3 separate regions of the Homo sapiens genome follow, and all the other regions are linked to region 1. Evidence: promoter capture Hi-C in 16 types of primary human blood cells and fetal thymus (Javierre and others, 2016). All regions are on one chromosome and are shown on one strand. Each heading gives the region's core, a stretch centred on a gene start or on the middle of the fragment in contact. The rest is flanking DNA. Distances are from core to core; before and after follow the strand shown.

What was found. Contacts are between HindIII fragments. The CHiCAGO score rates a contact against its expected background, and 5 or more counts as called.
Region 2: a fragment that was not itself captured here is called in contact with the fragment with the promoter of CLASP1-AS1 in region 1 in 6 of 17 cell types (total CD8 T cells, naive CD8 T cells, naive B cells and 3 more); the score reaches 8.5 in total CD8 T cells.
Region 3: a fragment that was not itself captured here is called in contact with the fragment with the promoter of CLASP1-AS1 in region 1 in 4 of 17 cell types (naive CD8 T cells, endothelial precursors, total CD4 T cells and 1 more); the score reaches 7.7 in naive CD8 T cells.

Annotation. Positions count from the first base shown.
Region 1 is chr2:121,528,778-121,531,477 of GRCh38, reverse strand. It overlaps CLASP1-AS1 (CLASP1 antisense RNA 1), which reads right to left and starts at 1,310. Exons shown (of 2, transcript XR_001739683.2): 1 at 703-1,310. It overlaps CLASP1 (cytoplasmic linker associated protein 1), which reads left to right. Exons shown (of 41, transcript NM_001395891.1): 3 at 1,153-1,231; 4 at 2,698-2,700. It overlaps RNU4ATAC (RNA, U4atac small nuclear), which reads right to left and starts at 598; the gene lies at 469-598. RefSeq lists an enhancer at 921-1,050 and a silencer at 1,241-1,440. The HindIII fragment of the contact is 3,511 bases long and covers 1-2,044 here.
Region 2 is chr2:121,668,677-121,671,376 of GRCh38, reverse strand. All of the region lies in intron 2 of NIFK-AS1 (NIFK antisense RNA 1), which reads right to left. Among named protein-coding and RNA genes, the nearest start is that of NIFK-AS1, 20 kb to the right of the region's middle. The HindIII fragment of the contact is 565 bases long and covers 1,071-1,635 here.
Region 3 is chr2:121,392,096-121,394,795 of GRCh38, reverse strand. The region is part of intron 31 of CLASP1 (cytoplasmic linker associated protein 1); the gene reads left to right. Among named protein-coding and RNA genes, the nearest start is that of TFCP2L1, 110 kb to the right of the region's middle. The HindIII fragment of the contact is 4,518 bases long and covers 1-2,700 here.

The DNA of each region.
Region 1 (2,700 bases), core at 61-2,560:
GACTACAGGCGCCGGCCACCTCGCCCGGCTAATTTTTTGTATTTTTAGGAGAGACGGAGTTTCACTGTGTTAGCCAGGATGGTCTCGATCTCCTGACCTCGTGATCCGCCCCCCTCGGCCTCCCAAAGTGCTGGGATTGCAGGCGTGAGCCACCGCGCCCGACCTGGATTACATTTTATGTGAGGTGCAAAGACCTACTGAAACTTCGTCTCCTATTGAAACTTGACCTAGACTACTGGGCTGACTCAGCATAAGGAAGTTACAGAACAGTTGATGATCGGCGTAAAGTTAAAGGGGTGAAGTTCTGTTGAAATCCTTCCCGTTTAATCACCGCAAAAACTGAAAGAACTTTACTTGCGACACTAAAACCACGCGTCTTGTGCACCCTCTACTGGTTTAACCACAAAGTACTAGTTTATTTACGAATTACTGCTGTTTGAACTGATAAGTCTATGAAAACAGGTTTTCATTTTTCCAAAAATTGCACCAAAATAAAGCAAAAGCTCTAGTTGATGCGGGTGTGTTGTTCAGGCGTTAGCAGTACTGCCCTCACTATGCGCTCATTGGACAGTAGCGCAACCCCAAGAAAAGGATGGTTATAATAGAAAGTCCCTGGGCTGCAAGCAGGAAGCGCCAATACCTGGTAGGGTTGTGGTAATTAATTCGTGAGCCTCGCCCTAGTCGGTCTGGTAGCTAGCTTACCTCCAGCCTCCACAGCTTTCGACGACACCCCAATTCTTTGTTTTCTGAGGCTCCCGAAGGGTCGCAAAAGCGGCGGCTCGGTTTTACCCAGAAGACCGCGCGTCGGCCGCTCGAAAATTTGCATACGCTTTTCTCGCCGGGGCGGGGCTGGCGGGGGCGGGACCGCGGCGCGCTCTTGAACTCCACCCGCAGCTAACCCGGGTTTGGCTACGCTGTATTGCCTTTTATTTCGTTTCTCCTCACCGAGTATTTTCCATTATAGCTGTACATAGCTCTTTTTGTGGAAGATCATCCTTCTTCGTGCTAATCTCTTTGGTCCTCCAGTCGGCATGCGTCTGGACTCTCGGACTGCGTCTGGGCCGGAAATGTCTAGGCCTCCCCGGAGCGGGTGGGCGGGAGCGCTGCCCCGCAGGCCGGCTGCTAACAGGCTCCCGGTGTTTCCCGCTGCAGGTGGTTCTGCTGGGCATGGACATCCTGTCCGCCCTGGTGACCCGGCTGCAGGATCGGTTCAAGGCGCAGATCGGCACAGGTGAGCTGCGGCACTTGTGGAGCGGACCCGGCCCCTTCAGACCCCCAGCCTTCCCTCGGCCTCCCCGGCTCCCAAACCCTCCCGGCAGCCACCCTGCCTCCCCTCCAGCCCCCTCTCCCTCCCTTCCGCTCCTCCCAAACAGCCAGTCCCCGCCCTCCCCCGCAGCCCCCCTAAGCACTCGCAGCCTGGGTCGGCCGCCCCGCTGCCTTCCCTTCCAGCTGGACTCCCCTGGCCTCTGGGCCTGCGGGCGCCCTTACCCTCCCCCATACCTTTGTACTGGCTTCACTGTGTTCTCACACGGAACTTAGTAATACGTGTTCTAATATGAAATATTAGTGCCATTTTTATTTCTTATGCTAAATTAGCTGTCACTCTTTAGTGCCAACCAAGTCATATTTTACCCTGACCCCGGTCCCCTTTAATGAGAGGCAGTTTTCCTTGAGAAATCCTATAAAACCAAGCCAGTTGTATTTTTCTCCAGATGATTATGGTTGGCATGACTATTTTCACCTTGATTGTAAATGTCATTACAAATGTATAGTAAATGTTCACTCTTATTTTGAAGGGAAAACAGTATGTCAGCAAAATGAAACAAAACCCACAGATTTCATAGATTTAAATACCTCTAAATTCCTGACCTCCGGTGTTTCATGGGGGTAGTATAAACACTAAGCATCTCTATGCAACCATTTCCTTATGGAATTTCTCTGTTTTACGTTGGTACACATGTATTCTTTACTGTTAACTTTCCGACCAATATGCTCCTTCTGAAAAGGTCATGAGCACCGACTGTTTACAAATTTAAAAAAAGCTTTTACTTTTAGACATTTGATATTTTAATAGTGTTCCATTTTCCTCCTAAATTAGCTGAATTATTCAGGGATATCTCATGTAATAGAGGTTTACAAACTCTTAAAATAAGCTGATCTCTGGTCTACAGGTGCACTTGGACCACTGGTGGGAGGGTCCACCCTGGGTATGTCGGGGAAGATGGAGAGCTGGGCTCTGTCTCATGTGTGTATGGGCGTGATGTAAAACTAAAAATACACAATAGTGATGAAACTTAAGATTTATTCATAAGTGCCCACTCCTTCCACCCCCAAACACATATACTGGAGCCCCTCTCCTTGTGTTTTACCTAAATTTTCCTTTCTGTTGACTCTTCCTCTCAAGGTCTTCCATTTTTATCAGCTTACAAATACGTTGGGAACTGGCTGGAGGAACGTGGGGTAAGGAGGAAGACAAATAGTGTATCTGTCCATGCAAAGGATTTTGCAGACTCTTTTGGTGACTTTCATGGACTTCAGCAAGGAGAGTAGAGCTGTGAGCAAAGATGAGTGGTTTTAGAATGAGATACATCATTTAGGTCAGGGGTTTGTCTTCCCACATAATTGAGATAGGAATACTTGGTGACCACAGACCCCCAAATAGGGTTTCATTTGATCAGTTTCCATTTTGATTTTCAGTGC
Region 2 (2,700 bases), core at 104-2,603, 140 kb before region 1:
ACTTTTTGTTTTGTTTTGAGAGAGGGTCTTGCTTGTCACCCAGGTTGGTGGGCAGTTGCATGATCTTGGCTCACTGCAACCTCTACCTCCTATGTTCAAGTGATCCTTCCACCTCAGCATCCTGAGTAGCTGGGACCAAAGGGATGTACCACCAAGCCAGGCTAATTTTTGTTTTTGTTTTAGTACAGACAGGGTTTTGCCATGTTGGCCAGGCTGGTCTCAAACTCCTGGCCTCAAGTGACCTGCCTTGGCTTCCCGAAGTGCTCGGATTACAAGCGTGAGCCACCGCACCTGGCTTGATTTTTACATTTCTTTAAGTTGGTTTTCACCTTTCTCTAGTATCTCCTTCAGTAGCTTAATAATCAACCTTCTGACTTCTTTATGTGGCAATTCAGAGATTCCTTCTGGGTTTGGATCCATTGCTAGGAAGCTAGTGTGGTCTTTTGTGGGTGTTATAGAACCTTGTTTTGTCATATTACCTGAATTATGTTTTTGATTTCTTCTTATTGGGTAGACTATTTTAGTGGAAAAATCTGGAACTCAAGGGCTGCTGTTCAGATTCTTTTGTCTCACAGGGTGATCCCGTGATGTGGTGCACTCCCCCTTTCCTTAGGGATGGGGCTTTCTGAGAGCCAGACTGTGGTGATTGTTATTGCTTTTCTGGGTCTAGGCATCCAGTGGGGCTTCCAAGCTCCAGGATCATGCTGGGGAGTGTCTGCAAAGAGTGTTGTGATGTAATCCATCTTCAGGTCTCCCAGCTATGGATACCAGCACCTCCTCTGGGGGAGGTGGCAGGGTAGTGACATAGACTCTATGAGAAGCCTTGGTTGTAGATGTTTAGTGTGCTGGCTTTCTCAAATGCTGGTTATGATAGCAGTGATGTTGCCACATGGACAGGACCTCTGTTTAGCCAGGATGTTGCAGATAGTGGAGTTAGCTGTTTTTTCCTTCCTTGGAGCAGTGTTATTTTGTCATGAGTTGCTGTCATATCTTGAGTTGGTTGGCCTCCAGCCAGGAGGTGGTATGTTCAGGAGAGCACCAGCTGTGATAGTAGAAGGGGGATATAAGCTTGCCCTAAGTTGGTCAGGATAAGTGTTCAGGTTTCTCATGTGATAAGTAGGGCCATAAAGCTCCCAAGAGTTTGTCTTTTGTGACTGGGCACTGGGATGGGTAGGGAAATACCATCAGGTTGGGGCAGGATTAGGCAGGTCTGAGCTCAGACTCTTTTTGCCACAGCCACTGTGGGGGATAGGGGGCTGATTCTCAGGCAAATGGGGTTATGTTCCAGTGTGGATTATGGCGCCTCTGTCACCAGGGAAGTGGGGGAAAGTAAGTAGCCACAGGGCTCACCCAGCTACCACACAGTTGGCAAGGCCAGTTTCACTCCCACTGTGCCCCGCTAACAGCACAGTTTATCTCCAGGCAGCTGGTGTGCAGGACTCAGACCTAGCCCCAGGGTATAAGTTTCCCCACTAAGAAAGCAAGCATGGCTTTCAGGCCTTGCCCCTCCCTGTCTGCCCACACTGTCAGCTGTGGCTCCTATGCTCCTTTCTGCAGCAGTTCACTTTCACCCCCGATTTCTGCTCGACAGAGTTTGCGCCCAGTCAAAATTATTACACAGTTCAGTTGGAAGCTTATTTCACCCTGCGACCCTGCCCAAATTCTGCCAACTGTCTTCCTCAATGGCCTCGGTGAGATACAGTCAGGGATGGCTTCCCTGGCCCAAGCTGGAGAATGGGAGCGCCTACAAGGCTCTTCCTGCTACTATTTCTACTTTTATATTTTATACTAAATCCATTTCAGCTCTAGGCAAGGTTAAATCCTTCTTCCATAATCTGGGTTTTGAGGTTCCCCAGTGGAGATGTGTGTTCAGAGGCAGGTTTCCCCCTTCTCACATGTTGGGAACTCATAGTTTTTCACCCATCTCATGGAATTTGCAGCAGTGTGCTGTGAGGCCGAGGTGGGAGGATCACTTGAGCCCAGCAGTTTGAGACCAGCCTGGGCAACATGGCAAGACCCAGTCTTGGTCTGTACAAAAAATTAAATAATAGCTGGGCATGGTGGCATATGTCTGTAATCCTAGCTATCAGGAGGCTGAGGCAGGAGCATCACTTGAGCCCAGGAGTTTGAAGCTGCAGTGAGCTATTGTTGTGTCAGAGTACTCCAGCCTGGGTGACAGAGCAAGACCCTGTTTCTAAATAAATAGACTATTTTTTAAAGCAGTTTTAGTTTCATGTAGATTTCTACATATGGTGTGAGGCAAGGGGTCTAACTTCATTCTTTTGCATGTAGCTATCCAGTTGTCCTAGAGCCATTTGTTGAAAGGATGTTTGTTTCTCACCGAATTGGCACCCTGGTTGAAAATCAATTCAACACAGATGTATGGGTTTATTTATAAACTCTTAATTCTATTCCATTGGTCAATATGTCTATATGTAGGCCAATACCATGCCGTTTTGATTATTTTGGGTTTGTAGTAAGTTTTGATTATTGTAGCTTTGAAATTAGAAAGTGTGAGTCCTCCAGGAACTTTGTTATTTTTTTTTTCCAAAATAGTTTGGCTTTTCTTGGTCTCTTGCATTTCCATATTAATTGTAGGATTAGTTTGTCAATTTGTACAAAGAAGCTGGCTGGGATTTTGTTTGGTCTTCTTTAACTTCTTTCAACAGTTTTCAGTGTACAAGTCTTGTACTTCTTTTG
Region 3 (2,700 bases), core at 137-2,636, 140 kb after region 1:
CCATTCTCCTGCCTCAGCCTCCCGAGTAGCTGGGATTATAGGCACATACCACCATGCCCGGCTAATTTTTGTATTTTTAGTAGAGAAGGGGTTTCACCATGTTGGTCAGGCTGGTCTCGAACTCCTGACCTCGTGATCCGCCCACCTTGGCCTCCCAAAGTGCTGGGATTACAGGCGTGAGCCACTGCGCCCAGCCAAGATTTTTTAATAAAAGGATTCACACCTAGACACATAACATCTAATTGCTGAAAGCCAAAGAGAGAATCCTGAAAGCAGCAAGAGGGGAGAAACTCATCCCATGCACAAGTTCCTCAATAAGATTAACAGCTCATTTCTCTTCAGAAACCACAAAGGACAGAAGGCAGTGGATGACATTGAAGGTACTGAAAGAAAGAAAGCGCTCAGCCAAGAATTCACTGTTTGGCAAAACTCTTCTTCAGAAATGGAGAAATTAAAACAAAACCAGCCATAGAATCTCTCTCATTTTGAATCTCTCTGATGCCTTTTAAGGGCTTGCCTGATGAGGTCAGGCCCATCCAGGATAATCTCCCTTTGGATTAACTCAAAGTCAACTGATTAAGGGCCTCAATTACATTTTTGAAAATCACTTCTGCCGTGTAACACAATCATGGGAGTGATATCCATTATATTCACAAGTCCCGCTCACTCTAAGGGTGGGAGAGGTTATATAGGGTGTAATACGTTATGGGGAATCTTAGGGGCCGTCTTAGTGTCTTGACTACCAGGGCTTTAGTGTCTCTTTTAGGGGGTTGGCAGAAGGCTTCCATAGTTATTCGATAATTCCTTGGCTCTTATTTTAGAAGGGCGCTTTTTTACCTATCTATGCAAATTATGATGTGGTTCAACTTACTTAGCAGATGCATGTCTGTATTCTGGCACCCTCTGGATTTTTTTTTTTTTTTTAATCATCCAAGATATCCGTGGCTCTAAACTATTTGGCTTTCAGTAACATTCAGCACTAACTAGTAAAGCATTACTTTTGATTCAAATAGATGTATCATAGGACAGTATTAAAATAGATGTCCTCAAACTCTACATTAGGGCACTGCAGATTAATCCTTTTTGGAGGTAGATTCACTTTTATTTAAATTCCCTGTTTTGATGTAGCATCCGTTGAACATTTATAAATATAGTTGCTTTTGTAAGTGATGCAGCTGCCTTACCCAAGAATATGAGACGTTCTTGAAGCACTGTCAAAATGAAGGTAGTGCCTAAATAAATTAAAATACTTAGAATTGTGATGTAGTATTTATCACTACTCTAAGATCTAAAATTGATAAGATTTAAAATTATTTTAAACTGTATGAAAACTAGTACCATTCTTATCTAGATCATTTAACACACTAAACATAAAATACATGTCTGTATAAATAAACTTTGTTCTGCCTCATCCTTCATTTCCAGAGTTTTTTAAAGGTTATATCAGGGATTGAGGAAATCTTGGTGATTTAAAAGCGTTTTGTGATCTTAAACCAAGTTCTTCTGTGAATGTCCTGCTTTAATTTTTTTAGGGTAGGTATTCCAAATACAGAAGAGCCCTTCAGTCTGAAATTTATACAGTAAATTCTCATATTAGACTCATCTCTGGAGAATATTTTATGTAAACAGTACCTGGGGACTTTTCAGACAACATAATTCATTCTCTAAGTCCATACAACCATGTTTGTGAAAGCACTTTTGAAGCATTTTAAACTTATAACAAGCTGATATAACCCAGATTAATTGATTTTAGCATTTTTAATATTTTGTTTTCCTTAGCTCAGTATATTGGGGTGTTTCACATTTTGGAGGGAGGGGTGCTTAAATTGTTAAGGTGTTTTTAAAATCAAAACACGAACGAATCACCAGTGAGTGAGGTGTGCTTACCACACTGAGACTGGTTTGGGCAAGGTGAAAAAGCCCAACCCAGTCTGTAACTAGCCTGCTTTATTCCAAAAGTAAACTTTTCCATTTTCTCAGTGTGGGAGCCCTGACTAGTTTAGTTGTGTGATGAAACTATGCAGACGTACACTAGACCTTTCTTAATGCACTGTGTTGATGTAAGATAATAGTATATATTACTGATAGAAAGAAGGTGGGTTCTGGAGTTTGACATCCATTTGACATCTGCCTCTGCCACTCATTGGGGTCAGAGCAAGTAATTTAATCCCTGAGTTCTTGTTTATTATCTGTAAAATCGGAATAATAATACTTGCCTCAAACTGGGCATGGTGGCGCATGCTTGTAGTTCCAGCCTCATGGGAGGCTGAGGCAGGAGGATTGCTTGCAGCCACAGGAAGAGTCCTATCTCTATACATAAATAACACTTATCTCAGGCATTACTGAGAAGATTAAATTTCATAAAGTATATTAAAACTTAGACATTTTATTTGCAGTTGCAGCTCTGCTATTATTGTTTGAGGATTGTTTTGGTTTTGCTGCTGCTGTTATTTATGGAATAAACTGAGTACCAGAATTTTTTCTAAGATTTAGGAAGCCAGGTGATCAATCAAAGGGAATGTGGTAATGGCAGTAGAATTTTAATTATATGTTTACATTTTGGAATTTAAAATGCCTGTATGTTTGCTTATCACATGTGACTCTCTTTGTCAAATGAAGCAACAGATTTAGCCCCCAAACCTTGTTTTGAGAAGTGTGGGCAAAAAGGCGTGGCGAAGAAACCTAGAAGTATAAAGATGC